3 separate regions of the Homo sapiens genome follow, and all the other regions are linked to region 1. The links are contacts of gene promoters, found by promoter capture Hi-C in blood cells and fetal thymus (Javierre and others, 2016). All regions are on one chromosome and are shown on one strand. Each heading gives the region's core, a stretch centred on a gene start or on the middle of the fragment in contact. The rest is flanking DNA. Distances are from core to core; before and after follow the strand shown. Region 1 holds the start of ZC3H18 (zinc finger CCCH-type containing 18). Region 2 overlaps ZNF778 (zinc finger protein 778). Region 3 overlaps BANP (BTG3 associated nuclear protein).

Evidence for each region. Contacts are between HindIII fragments. The CHiCAGO score rates a contact against its expected background, and 5 or more counts as called.
Region 2: a fragment that was not itself captured here is called in contact with the fragment with the promoter of ZC3H18 in region 1 in 8 of 17 cell types (naive B cells, neutrophils, total CD4 T cells and 5 more); the score reaches 9.2 in naive B cells.
Region 3: a fragment that was not itself captured here is called in contact with the fragment with the promoter of ZC3H18 in region 1 in 1 of 17 cell types (endothelial precursors); the score reaches 9.4 in endothelial precursors.

The regions. Positions count from the first base shown.
Region 1 is chr16:88,568,670-88,573,081 of GRCh38, forward strand. It overlaps ZC3H18 (zinc finger CCCH-type containing 18), which reads left to right and starts at 1,734. Exons shown (of 18, transcript NM_144604.4): 1 at 1,734-1,897. RefSeq lists enhancers at 915-1,024, 1,135-1,184, 2,275-2,324 and silencers at 1,425-1,754, 1,935-2,004. The HindIII fragment of the contact is 17,903 bases long and covers 1-2,971 here.
Region 2 is chr16:89,221,062-89,225,473 of GRCh38, forward strand. It overlaps ZNF778 (zinc finger protein 778), which reads left to right. Exons shown (of 7, transcript NM_001201407.2): 2 at 1-91; 3 at 1,031-1,122; 4 at 2,096-2,222; 5 at 3,658-3,741. The coding sequence starts at 67. Among named protein-coding and RNA genes, the nearest start is that of ZNF778, 5.6 kb to the left of the region's middle. The HindIII fragment of the contact is 7,033 bases long and covers 1-4,412 here.
Region 3 is chr16:87,968,877-87,973,288 of GRCh38, forward strand. All of the region lies in intron 1 of BANP (BTG3 associated nuclear protein), which reads left to right. Among named protein-coding and RNA genes, the nearest start is that of BANP, 20 kb to the left of the region's middle. The HindIII fragment of the contact is 1,063 bases long and covers 1,408-2,470 here.

The sequences.
Region 1 (4,412 bases), core at 484-2,983:
CCCAGTCCGGTGGCCCACCTGTACCACTGGGCATCAGAATCCCCTGAGAGCTCTTCATGGACCACAGGGCCCTGGGACCTCACTCCCAGTCACTGGTGCGGCCACTCTGGGGCAGAGCCCAGGAAGGCACATTGCTAACAACCCCTAGTGATACTGAGGCTGCTTGCCCGGGTCCCACTTGGAGAACCCTGTCGAGGGTGGCACTGCTGGTCACAGGGCACTTCTTTTAACTAACATTGTTTTCCAAAGAGGCTGTGACCAACAGAGTTTACTGTTCATGAAACTCAGATCGCAGACAGGCACGTGTCTGTCACAGCCGGTGCCGGCCGCTCCTTTCCATGGACAGTAACGTCCATGCAGGCTTATGTTCATCAGCTGAGAAAAGGGCACTTGCTGGGTGGGACCTTGTCTTATCGACACATAGAGTCTGCAGAAGGTGCCAACTGGTGTCGCAGGGCTGCTCCTGACACGACCCAAAATCACCAGGGTTGAATTCACATTCCTCTTACGTAACCATAACAAGTTGCTGGGACTACAGGCACGCACCACGGTGCCCTGTTAATTTTTTTGTAGAGACAGGGGTCTTGCTTTGTTGCCCAGGCTGGTCTCAAACTCCTGGAGGAGGTGGTCCTCCCACCTTGGACTCCCAAAGTGCTAGGATTACAGGTGTGAGCCACAGTGCCAGGCCTGTGGTACCTCTTCCAAGGACACTAATCCTATCAGATCAGGACCCCACCCTTATAATCTCATTTAACCTTAATTACTTCTCTAAAGGCCCTTTCTGCAAACACAGTCACATTGGGGATTAAGGCTTCACATACAAATGTTAGGGGGACAGAACTCGGTCCATAGCATGGAGTCGCACAGGTTTTGTCCTTTTGCGATTGGCTTGCTTTACTTAGTATGTTTCCAAGGTTCACCCATGTTGTGGCATGGGTCTGAACTTCACTCTTCTTGATGACTGACTCACACTCCACTGCATGGACAGCCAGCATTTTGTCTGTTCCTCAGTTTGTGGACATCTCGCCCCCTTGTTTCCACCTTGGGGATATGGAGGAAGATGGGATGAGCGAAGCCCTGTGATCCCCAGGACCAGCCACGTCGTTGGCAAGGGTCAGCGCAGGATGAAACCGCCGGCCCCTGGTCTCCGGCCGGGCCCTCCGTCTCTAGAGCAGCTCGCACCGCTGCAGCCCCTGGACGCCCCGGGCTGTGGACGCGCCCGTGGGACACCGCGCTGAGCAGGACACGCGACAGGTCCCCTCACTGGCGCTGCTCGCGTTGAACCGCGCGGGGAGCCAGGCAGCCCACGGGAAAGGTAAGAATTGTTAGGCTTTTAATCTAAAGTCGATACCTCAAAAAATAATTCCGGAGGTAAGCATTTAATATCAACATTCAATAAAGCAGGAAGTATCAGCCCGACGAAGACCGCCTTAAGTTTTCCACTTTGATGAACTCGATCATCCCCGGGGATGAAGAACCCGCCGGCCCAGCCGGAGCCCCGTCACGTGACCCGGCGGCCGCGGGGAGCTCTGTGCGCAGGCGCGGATCCGCACGCCCGCCGCCTGAGAAGCGAACTCCCCGTGGCGCCTGCGCTGTAGCGGGGGTTCGGCTGGCTCGCGCGGGTCCGGGCGCGCGCTGCGGGGGCGGAACCGCGCGGAGGCCGGAAGGAAGCTGGAGGGGGCGGGGCGAGGGAGGGAAGCCCGCCGGCCGTAGGACTACCGTCGCGGCCTGATGACGTCGCACAATGGCCGGCCCCCGCGGGTAGTGGAGCCCGTTTGTTCCGCCCGTGTCGAGCCTGGAGCCAGAACCTGTGAAGAGCGGAAGGGCCAAGGGACGTCTTCTCCACGCCGCTCCGACTCCAGGGGAGCCGTGGCCTCCTCTCCGCCCTAGCGCTGAGGTTAGCTGGGGCCGGGAGGGCGGCGGGAGGCCGGGCCGGCGGCGGCGGGAGGAGGAGGCCGCCGAGGCGGCGGCGGCGGCCGCGGGAGGGAGGCCCGGGAGCCCGGCGCGCCTCCGGCCGTGCGGACCCACCGGCCGAAGCGTGGCCCTCGGGCCCAGGGAAGGGGACCTTGAGACAGGCACCACCCCGAGTTCCGTCCGTAAGCCGGCCCCGCGGTCCTGGGGCGCCCTGGGCGCCCGAGCTCCTCGCGCGCTGCCTCCGCGCCCCGCGGCAGAGTTTATTTTCCTGAAGCTGTCATTTCTCTTCCGGGCCACTCGCGTGGCACATGTGTGCCGCCGGCTAAGGGGCGGTGAGAGGCGCCCAGATTCACCTCCAGAGTAGGTCATCCCGGGCTGCTGCTGGGCTCTTCGGAGAACTTTGAGCTCTTTATGAACCTCCTGGAACTTGCTCCGCAGCTTCAAAGTGTGCACAGGTTGGGCGCAGTGATTGCCCCAAGACGCGCGCCGGTCTCTTAGGAGTATGTAACTTCCTTGCCCCTTGGATTAGGAGATCAGAGGTGCTGGGTCCTTTATATAGACCAACTGCAGCTATAATGCTGGAAGAACTGAAACTTAACAGCCTTACTCCTGCCAAACATTTTTCCTGAATACTTTATGACAACTGAGTTTGCCGGGTAGAGTGGCCGTTTTAAATGAGCTTTGTTCGAACAACGCTAACTCATTTGCAAGAGTAGGTCATTCTTCAGACCCATTTGGGAAAATGGAAGAAGAGAGTGTTTGGCATCTGAAGTACCGTTTGGGGTGTAGCAAGGTGCTCATCATGTCTCCTGTTAGACTCACCTCCAGCCTGTTGTCTGTAGAGTAGTCCTTTCCCGTTCAGTAGTTGGGATTATCCGGGTGAGGTTTGACCTCGGCTGAATCCCGCTTCCCAGCTTTGGGAGGAGAGTCTTTTCCTGATAATTTTACTATCTAAGGGCAGTATGGAGCCCAGCCAGCCCTGGAACCAGTCAAATGTGTCCCAAAGCCGGAAACTCCTCTCCCGTTGTAGGTGGGACATGCTGAAATATTGTAAGAAAGCTTTGTGGAGTCACTCCAGAAAGCAAACAGGTAAGTTAACCTATGGCCTACATCGTGTTTACAGAGATTTGTATTTTGTCACAGCTACAGAGCATCTCAAGGTGAGTACCTCTTTATCAAGGAGTTTAGTGGTCACGCTTGGTCACTTTGCACGTGGGGTCTGTCACCAACCTTGATAACGTTCATTTAGATATTTTAAGTCCATGAGGTTATGAGTCAGAATTTTAACCAGATGTACCAGAACTTAGGCATTCAAATAGGTACTGCTCTGTTGAAAGTAATTGTCCCAAAATGTGCTTGTATTTCATCGGTGCTTCTTTGCCAGAATCTCTTTAGAACTCCTGTTGTGGTAGTAAAAATGTAGTCATATGGGAAAATCAGTCTTATTCAATAGTCACCCTCCAGGTTTGACCAAAAGTTTACTTACGTGGTTGGTAGCTCACCTTATCAGGTGAGACTCTGACTTGCAGCACTTTATCAAAGTGACTAGCTTGAGAGGAGGAAGATTTGCCACCACTAAGAATACCAGAAGACTTCTTTAGGCTTGGAAGGTCATTCGCAATGAGAAGGTCCCCAAACGCTCTGCATTTCAGCAGTGCCGTTGGAGTCTGTGCATCCTCCCAGAGGGGCTGCTCGGAAGGGAGGTAGCACCTGCTCTTTATTATTACTATTATTTTTTGAGACGGAGTCTCACTCTGTTGCCCAGGCTGGAGTGCAGTGGCAGGATCTCGGCTCACCGCAACCTCCTCCTCCTGGGCACTTATTTTAAATTCCTTTCTGGTAGGCAACAGGTAGTTCCTCAATTAACGAGTTTTTTGTCATGTATTCAACAAATATCTATCAAGTATCATCTGCCAAATGCAGAAAGCAACGGAGACGGGACGATGGGCACTTGTTATTTCATTCCTTAGGCAAGTTCACCCATCTGGTGGATCAGAGGACTAAGGATTTAGTTCTAAATTGTGCTGAAAATCTTCAGTTATAGATAGTGTAAGAAGACCAAACTGAGCACAAATTGCAAACGTGGGTATCAGTTGAGACTCTTCTACTGACACCCCTGTCTACACTTCTCATTTCATTGTCTACACTTAAGAGGCCACGTTTCCCTTCGTAGCACCTTATTACTATTTTTTGAAACGGAGTCTCACTCTGCTACCCAGGCTGGAGTGCAGTGGCATGATCTCGGCTCACTGCAACCTCCTCCTCCTGGGTTCAAGTGATTCTCCTGCCTCAGCCTCCTGAGTAGCTGGGACTACAGGCACGTGCCACCATGCCCAGCTAATTTTTGTATTTTTAGTAGAGACAGGGGTTTCACTGTGTTGGCCAAGGTGATCTCGAACTCCCAACCTCGTGATCCTCCCGCTTCAGCCTCCCAAAGTGCTGGGATTACAGGCATGAGCCACCACACCCAGCCAATTGTGTGATTTTTAAAACTAGTT
Region 2 (4,412 bases), core at 916-3,415, 650 kb after region 1:
AAGCTGCCCTGCAGTGGCCTTGGCTTCAGGAAAGGAGCATTCAGACGCTTCCGTCAGCCTCCCAGGATGGCAGCCCCTGACCTGGCCCACGGTAAGTCCTGGTGGGGCTCCTTCTCAGAGCCTCTGCTCTAGGTCCTGATACACAGTGTGTGTATCAGGCCCATGGACGGGGCCTGAGTAGTCACGCTCCGGGTTCCTATTGCAGCTGCTGGAGTGAGCCAGAGAATGCTGACCTGTAAGTCAGCCCCAGGGTGTGTGCTTTGGGGAGGGATGATGTGTAAACTCCTTCATGAGTTTTCTCACCACGGGCAAATGAAGAGTCACGTTCCTCAAGGCGTACCGTTCCATATCTGCAATAGGAGCCTGTTACCATTTCCTGATGGGCGGCATAGCTCACAAACATTTTGTGTCACCAGGCGAAACAGACTACCCTGGCACTGTATGGCTGTGTGTGTGTCTGTGTGTGTTTTCCTGAGGCACTGTATGGCTCTGTGTGTGTGTTTTCCTGAGGCACTGTATGGCTGTGTGTGTGTGTGTGTGTGTGTGTGTGTATTTTCCTGAGGGACTATATTTTCCTGAGGCATTGTATGGCTGTGTGTGTGTGTATTTTCCTGAGGCAGTTTATGGCTGTATGTGTGTGTTTTCCTGAGGCACTGTATGGCTGTGTGTGTCTTTTCCTGAGTGTGCAAGAGTACATGGGAATTCCCTCGCTCTGTATGACTGTGTGTGTGTGTGTGTGTTCCTCAGGCAGTGTATGGCTGTGTGTGTGTGTGTTTTCTTGAGGAAGTGTATGGCTGTGTGTGTGTGTGTGTTTTCCTGAGGTACTGTATGGCTTTGTGTGTGTGTTTTCCTGAGTGTGCAGGTGTATGTGGGAATTCCCTGACACTGTATATCTGTGTGTGTGCGTTTTCCTGAGTGTGCAGGAGTACGTGATAATTTCCTGCTAGGATGGAATGACTTCCGGGTCCATGAGTGTGGAATTAGGGTCAGCTCTGGGTTCTCATGCCTTCTTGCCTTCTTTGTTTTTTAGGAGGTCATGTTTCTAGGGACTCAGTCTGCCTTCATGAAGAACAGACACAGGCAGCAGGGATGGTGGCTGGCTGGCTGATAAATTGTTACCAGGTATGCCAAAACTGTATTTTTTCTTAAAATAACATACTGGTATTCAGCAGATAGACAAGTTTCTGTCTGAGCAGACTTGTCTGCACAGCCTCACTCAAGGACCGAGTCCCTAGTTGAACGCCTCCAGGGAGAAGAGCCTGGCTGGTCAGGTGTTACTGTGAAAATCCTCCCCGTATTTCAGTGTTACTTTTTTTTTTTGAGACGGAGTCTCGCTTTGTCGCCCAGGCTGGAGAGCAATGGCCCAATCTCGGCTCACTGCAATCTCCGCCTCCCAGGTTCAAGCAATTCTCCTGCCTCAGCCTCCCAAGTAGCTGGGATTACAAGTGCCCACCAGCATGCCTGGCTAATTTTTGTATTTTTAGTAGAGACGGGGTTTTGCCATGTTGGCCAGGCTGGTCTTGAACTGCTGATCTCAAGTGATCCACCCGCTTTGGCCTCCCAAAGGGCTGGGATTACAGGCTTGCACCACTGCGCCCAGCCACAACATTACTCATTATTTTCACCCTTGTGCCAAATGCGTGTTTCGTACTTTGCTTAGTGCTCTGACACATGGTAAGGAAGGGGAAGGTATCCTCTCTGGGAACTTATTTCCACATCACGAGTTACCACTTGTTTGTAGTGTGCTCAGGAGAGGGACATAAGGCGAGGGGAGTGCCCAGTGAGCGTGGTGAGAGAAGCTCACATGTTAGAGGTGTCGTTGCGGCCGTGTGACTGGAGGAGAGCGACAGGGTGCGCGTGACTGGAGGAGCGCGACAGGGCACGCGTGACTGGAGGAGAGCGACAGGGTGCGCGTGACTGGAGGAGAGCGACAGGGCGTGTGTGCGGGCAGAGAAGGGTTCCTGGGACCACTGGGCCATGGGGTAGACAGTAGGAGGCCTCACAGTCCCATAGGCGTAGGGCCCCGCCTCCTCATTCTTCAGTGAATACCGATGGACACGTTGGAAGGCTCCAACCGTCATGTGTGATGATTTAGGACGCGGTGACCTTTGACGACGTGGCTGTGGACTTCACCCAGGAGGAATGGACTTTACTGGACCCATCTCAGAGAGACCTCTACAGAGATGTGATGCTGGAAAACTACGAGAACCTGGCCTCAGTAGGTGAGGCTGCCACCGTCCTTTGCAACTTCTGTGGAACCAATACTTGATGTGTCCTTACTGTGTTCCAGGGTTGGTGACGGCAAAGCCGAGTACCACGGGAAGTAAGAGATATAACAACTGTGCTAGTAGGCTTGGTGCTAGTGTGGTCGTTTCCAGAATGTGGTCCTGGGGTCATGAGCATCACCGTCACTCCTCTAGAAACATGCATTCTGAGGCTTCAGCTGGGACACATTGGATCAGAATGTCTCCTGGGGGTGGGCCTGTCATCTCTCCTGTAACAAGCCCTCCCGACGATGCCAATTCACTCTAACACTGAGAACCACTGGGTAGTAGTTTCCCAAGTGAATGAAGATCTCTTATTGCACTTCTGTTATTTCCTATTTGAGTAAGAGTCTTTGTGGTTTTTACGTGTATATTTAAGCCTGAATGTGGGCTTCAGGAATCAGAGATAACCAGTTTCTTTGGGGCGCAGAAGGATGGAGTATTTGCACTTTGAGCCCTTTTGAAACAATTTCACTGCATTCTTTAGAAATGTAGTTCCTGGCATGCCACTGCACTCCAGCCTGGGTGACAGAGCGAGACTCCATCTCAAAAAAAAAACAAACGTAGTTCCTGGCCGGGCGCGGTGGCTCATGCCTGTAATCCGAGCACTCTGGGAGGCTGGGTGCAGTGGCTCAGGGCTGTAATCCCAGCACTCTGGGAGGCCGGGCGCGGTGGCTCAGGGCTGTAATCCCAGCACTCTGGGAGGCCAGGCGCAGTGGCTTAGGGCTGTAATCCGAGCACTCTGGGAGGCTGGGTGCAGTGGCTCAGGGCTGTAATCCGAGCACTCTGGGAGGCTGGGTGCAGTGGCTCAGGGCTGTAATCCCAGCACTCTAGGAGGCCAGGCGCAGTGGCTCAGGGCTGTAATCCCAGCACTCTGGGAGGCAGGGTGTGGTGGCCACGCCTGTAATCCCAGCACTCTGGGATGCTGGACGCAGTGGCTCATGCCTGTAATCCCAGCACTTTGGGAGGCTGGGCGCAGTGGCTCACGCCTGTAATCCGAGCACTCTGGGACGCCAGACGCAGTGGCTCATGCCTGTAATCCTAGCACTTTTGAGAGGCCGGGGTGGGCGGATCACAAGGTCAGGAGATTGAGACCATTCTGACCAACACGGTGAAACCCCATCTCTACTAAAAATACAAAAAACTAGCCAGGCGTGGTGGCGGGCACCTATAGTCCCAGCTACTTAGGAGGCTGAGGCAAGAGAATCACTTGAACCCAGGAGGCAGACGTTGCAGTGAGCCGAGATTGCACCACTGCACTCCAGCCTGGGCAACAGCGCGAGACGCTGTCTCAAAAAATAATAAAAAAAAGGAAATGTAGTTCCTGTTCACGGGTAGGTTTGTCATCCCCTGCCTGAGCCTCTTCCATCGATGTCTCTTTCCCTGTGTACAGGACATCACCTGTTCCAACCCAGTGTGATCTATTGGCTGGAGCAGGAAGAGGAGTTGAGGGCAGGGCGGAGAGCAGTTCTCCAAGGTAAGTGTGAAGAGCACGCCTGGTCGATGTCAAGTTTAGCAGCTGTGGGAGGATCCTGAGTGTCAAGTTTAGCGGCTATGGAAGGATTGTGTCAAGTTAAGCGGCTGTGGGAGGATCCTGAGTGTCGAGTTTAGCGGCTGTGGAAGAATCCTGAGTGCACGTTTTAAGATGCATTCTGGCACAGAACATGAGGCTGTTGGCTCTGGGTATCCTGAGCTTCCCGTAATTCCTTATTTTCCATCTGATCTGGATTTTCCCTTTCTTGTGATCTCATAAAAAACCTGCTGTTTTGTTCTTTCAGTTTGTGGGTTTTTTTTTTTTTTTTTTTTTTGAGACGGAGTCTTGCTCTGTTGCCCAGGCTGGAGTGCAGTGGCACAATCTTGGCTCACTGCAAACTCTGCCTCCTGGGTTCACTCAGTTCTTCTGCCTCAGCCTCCTGAGTAGCTGGGATTACAGGTGCGTGCTGCCACGCCTGGCCAAGTTTGTGTTTTGAATGTATGCCCTTTGTCCAGCTCTTTCCTGCTTTCTTTCATTGATAATATTGTTTCTGTTCACCTCACATTTCTTCTTTATGGACCAAATGTATTTTAAAATCTTCTAAATTATGACTCCCAGTTCCTATGATTCCAAATTTTACACATAGCCAAACTCCTTAAATCTATCTTTGCTTT
Region 3 (4,412 bases), core at 689-3,188, 600 kb before region 1:
TTTTCTTTTTGAAAAAGTGATAAATGCACAGGATAAAAATGGAAATATTATTAGAGGATGAAAAGTGAAAAATAATTTCCTTTTCACCCATGCCCCAGGCTGTTGTAGGTCTTCTGTATCTTAACCTGGAAATATTCTGTGCATATCTGACATACTTCTTAAAAATAAAGCATGTCGTCTGCACTGCCCTCGTCCACACTGCCCTGCCCAGTTGATATTCACGGGATCCTGCACCTTGGGAGCCGCTTTTCGGGGGCTCTTGTTGACTCCTGAAGCTGCGTGGTATATTCCATTCTTAGCTATGCAATGCTGACATCCATTCTTTTGCTGCTAAAAACAATGCCTTACGTTGTTTTGTTGTTGTTGTTGTTGTTGTTGTTGTTTGTATGTAGGTCTTTGCACACATATGTGAATGTCTGTGCTGGCTGAATGTTGTGTGGGGCATGGCCAGGTTAAGGGCTGTGGCCATTTAGCATTTTGATAGCTATTGCCCTTCAAAGAGGTTGTACCCATTTACACCCCCAGCAAAAGCGCAACAGCCATGTTTTCTGATATCTTCTGGCGAAGTGTGTCATATTTTGTGATTTTTGCCAATCTGATTGGTGAAAAATGTTGTCTTGTTTAAATTGTTTTAAAAAGATTACACATCGAGATTGACTTTTTTTTTTTTTTTTGAGACAGAGTCTCCCCCTGTCACCCAGTGTGGAGTGCAATGGCGTGATCTCAGCTCACTGCAACCTCTGCCTCCCCATTTCAAGCGATTCTCCTGCCTCAGCCTCCTCAGTAGCTGGGATTACAGGCACGCGCCGCCATCCCCGTCTAATTTTTTGTATCTTTAGTAGAGACGGGCTTTCACCATGTTGGCTAGGCTGGTCTCGAACACCTGACCTCTTGATCCACCCACCTTAGCCTCCCAAAGTGCTGGATTACAGGCATGAGCCACCACGCCTGGCCTGACTATCTTTACATAACTTGTTTTTCTGTGAATTCATTTTCATTTCCTTATGCTCATTTTTGATTAGGTTGATTGGTCTTTTTTTTTTTTTTTTTTGACAGAGTCTTGCTCTGTCACTCAGGCTGGAGTGCAGTGGCACGGTCTCAGTTCACTGCAACCTCCGCCTCCCGGGTTTAAGCGATTCTCCTTTCTCAGCCTCCTTAGTAGCTGGGATTACAGGCATGTGCCACCATACCCTGCTAATTTTCGTATTTTTAGTAGAGATGGGGTTTTGCCACATTGGCCAGGCTGACAGGTGATCCACCCGCCTTGGCCTTCCAAAGTGCTGGGATGACAGATGTGAGTTTCCTAGTCTTGATTTTGATTTTCCTATTTGCATTTCTGTGGTATAGTTTAGCATGTTCTTCTGGCCTCTGTATATCCTGTCACTTAGGAAATGTTAGGATTCTAGAAGCTTAATTAGATTCAGCATTTTTGTTTGTTCGGTAGGGGAGCCTCCCACATAGATGGTGCTGAATTCTTCATTAATGAGGCAGATAGTGTGTGTTTTTCTTTTTCTGATGGTAACTCTGTTACCTAGATTCTTAATTCATCAGGGATTGCAAAACGATGACTGTTCTTTTGTTAGAATGCTTTTATACAGAGAAACATTCTATTGCTTATGATGTGGTTTTTCAGTGACGTGATTTGTATAGAAAGGCAGAATAAATGCTTGATTTTTTCTTTTTATTACCATTAAACAAATTAAAGGCTTAATAATATTATTAACTCATGAATTTAAAAATATTTCCCTTTCAACCCAGTGAAGTTGTTACCGTTGTTGATAGTCTGCTTTTCTTGTTCACAAGGGCATCAGGGATGACAGAATTGCACACAAGGCAAGGCGTCCTCAGACAGAACTCTACCGGCCGGGCGCGGTGGCTCGGCCTGTCATCCCAGCACTTTGGGAGGCTGAGGTGGGCGAATCACCTGAGGTCGGGAGTTTGAGACCAGCCTGGCCACAGAGGGAAACCCCGTCTCTACTAAAATACAAAAAGTAGCCAGGTGTGCTGGTGGGCACCTATAATCACAGCTACTCGGGAGGCTGAGGCTGGAGAATCGCTTGAACCCAGGAGGCGGAGGTTTCAGTGAGCCGAGATCCTGCCACTGCACTCTGGCCTGGGCAACAGAGTGAGACTGCATCTCAAAAAAAAAAAAAAGAACTCTACCACTTCTTACCGCCACTGAATGAACATTGTAACATTTGTTTTTGTTAGTTTTTGAAAATTGCTCAGAAAGAACTCTACCACTCCTTATAGCCATTGAACATTGTGAACATTGTAACATTGGTTTTTGTTTTTGAAAGTTGTTACATTTGTTTTTTATATGTACTCCCAATTCCTCCCAGTTTCAAGCAGTTACATTGTGTCTGCGTTTAGCACATAGCCTTCATCTCCTCTGTCTCAGTCCTGCGTGGAGATAGGGTGCTCCGCTAGCCGCTCTTCCCAATGCCTCTCCAGTGGTTTGGTTTTCCGAAGCTTGTTTGTTGCCAGTGCCTTCAGGAGGGAATTTTTGGGAATACTGTTCTCTGAGGACTGGATGCTGCCTTTATACTTGAAAGTAATTTTGTCTGGATATAAAATTCTTGGCTCACATATCTTTCCTTGTGTGTCTTAAATACGTTAATCCTTTTTTTTTTCTGTTGGAGTTTGATAGTTAATTTTCTTTCCGTTATAAGTCACCTAGTCTTTTGCTTGGATGGCTAAAAAATTTTTCTTTAAATAGTGTTTTTATTGGGCTGTATCTTGGTGTTCTGTCTTGGTGTTGTATCTTGGTGTTGTGTCTTGGTGTTGGTGGTTTTGTTTTTGTTTTTTTCCCCCTAGGTTGTAGTGTATTATTTTAACGAGTAGTTTCAAGCACCCTCCGTCCTGTTTTCTGGAGAGCTTTCTTGAATTACAGTTTTTGGTATTCCATTTCATTGCTTTAGTTTTCCTTTTTTCGAGACAGGGTCTCGTTCTGTTGTCCAGGGTGGAGTGTAGTGGTGCGATCACAGCTTGCCACAGCCTTGCCCTCCCAGACTCAAGTGATTTTCCCACCTCAGCCTCCTGAGTAGCAGGGACCACAGGCAGGTGCCACTGTACCCAGTTAATTTAAAAAATATTTTATGGAGTCGGGGTCTCGGTACATGCCCAGGCTGCTCTTGAGCTATCAACCTCAAATGGTCCTCCTGCCTTAGCCTCCCAAAGTATTGGGATTACAGGCATGAGCCACTGTGCCTGGCCAGTTTTCATCTTTAGCATCTCCTATTATACATATGTTGGGTCTTCTTTTCCTGTCTTATGTGCTACTTTTTCTTGAGCTTTTTTCATCTCTTTCATTTCTTTTTTATTCTTGAAAATTTTGTCATTTTATTTTTCTTAAGGCACCATTGTGTTTATTTGTTCTAAGGTTCTTCTAGTTTAATCTTCATTTCTGAAGTTACTTTTTCTTTTGTTTCTAATATATTCTGAGTTCTAGCACCTTGTTTCTGAGTTTTTCTAATGCTGGTTTCTGGTTAATGTGTGTTATGTGTTTAATGTATTTCAGTTTGTTTTGAATTATCAGGGTATAGTTTTTTTTTTCTTTTTAGTTTTCGTCTTTTTGGGGGATATATGTTTCTAGAATGTTTTCATTGTCTGCAGTGATGTTATTTTGCTTCTTATTCTTTTAAGAAATACATGATTTTTGCATGATATTTGGCCTCAGTAGTTTCTGTTGCTCATTTTTATATGATTTTTGCTTTTCTGAATGCTCAGAAGGGAGGCTTGGTTTAGAATCGTTTCTCTAATTTCAGTGTTTTGGGTTCTTTCCTGTGTTGTTTATAGGAAGTTTTAAAAATACAGCAGCTTCTTTTCTCAGCTCTCTAGGCTCTGTTCTCCCCTCCCACCTTTAATGAGCTTTCATGTTCCTTTGTCTCTAGTTTCCGTGCCCTGCACATTTTGTGTTCAGTTCCAAGCCGTTTCTTTTCAATGTATTTGGCCTAAAAGGGAGCTTTGGATAATGCGTTTTGAGAGGGCTTGGGGTCCAGAACACTCTGGCCTCTGGGTCAGCCCTGCAGGCCCCTGTGTGGTTCTCCTGGTGGATCCTGCAGCTGCTGCTCTCGGCCTGGCTCCTGCTTCCCTTTGCTTCCTCCATCCTATGCCCGTGTGCCATGCTGACCTTGTGGCTTCCAGTGTCCCCATCTGCTTGTGTTTGGGGTTCTTGAGGAATATGCTGTCACCTCGTTCTGTTGTCGGTGTTGACTTGGATTTTGGTTTTGCTATCCTTGGAGGTCTGTGTGTCTGTATGGGAGGATTTAGGGAGATTAAACATCTGTCTCATTCCGTCTTTCCCAGCTGGACTTTTTAGAGGTTCAGCGCTGGTGCCTCTGAGGCTTTGTGTCTCCCCCTCCAGTTATTTGTCATCAGCTCTTTTTTTTTTGTTAGGGACAGTTGATTGA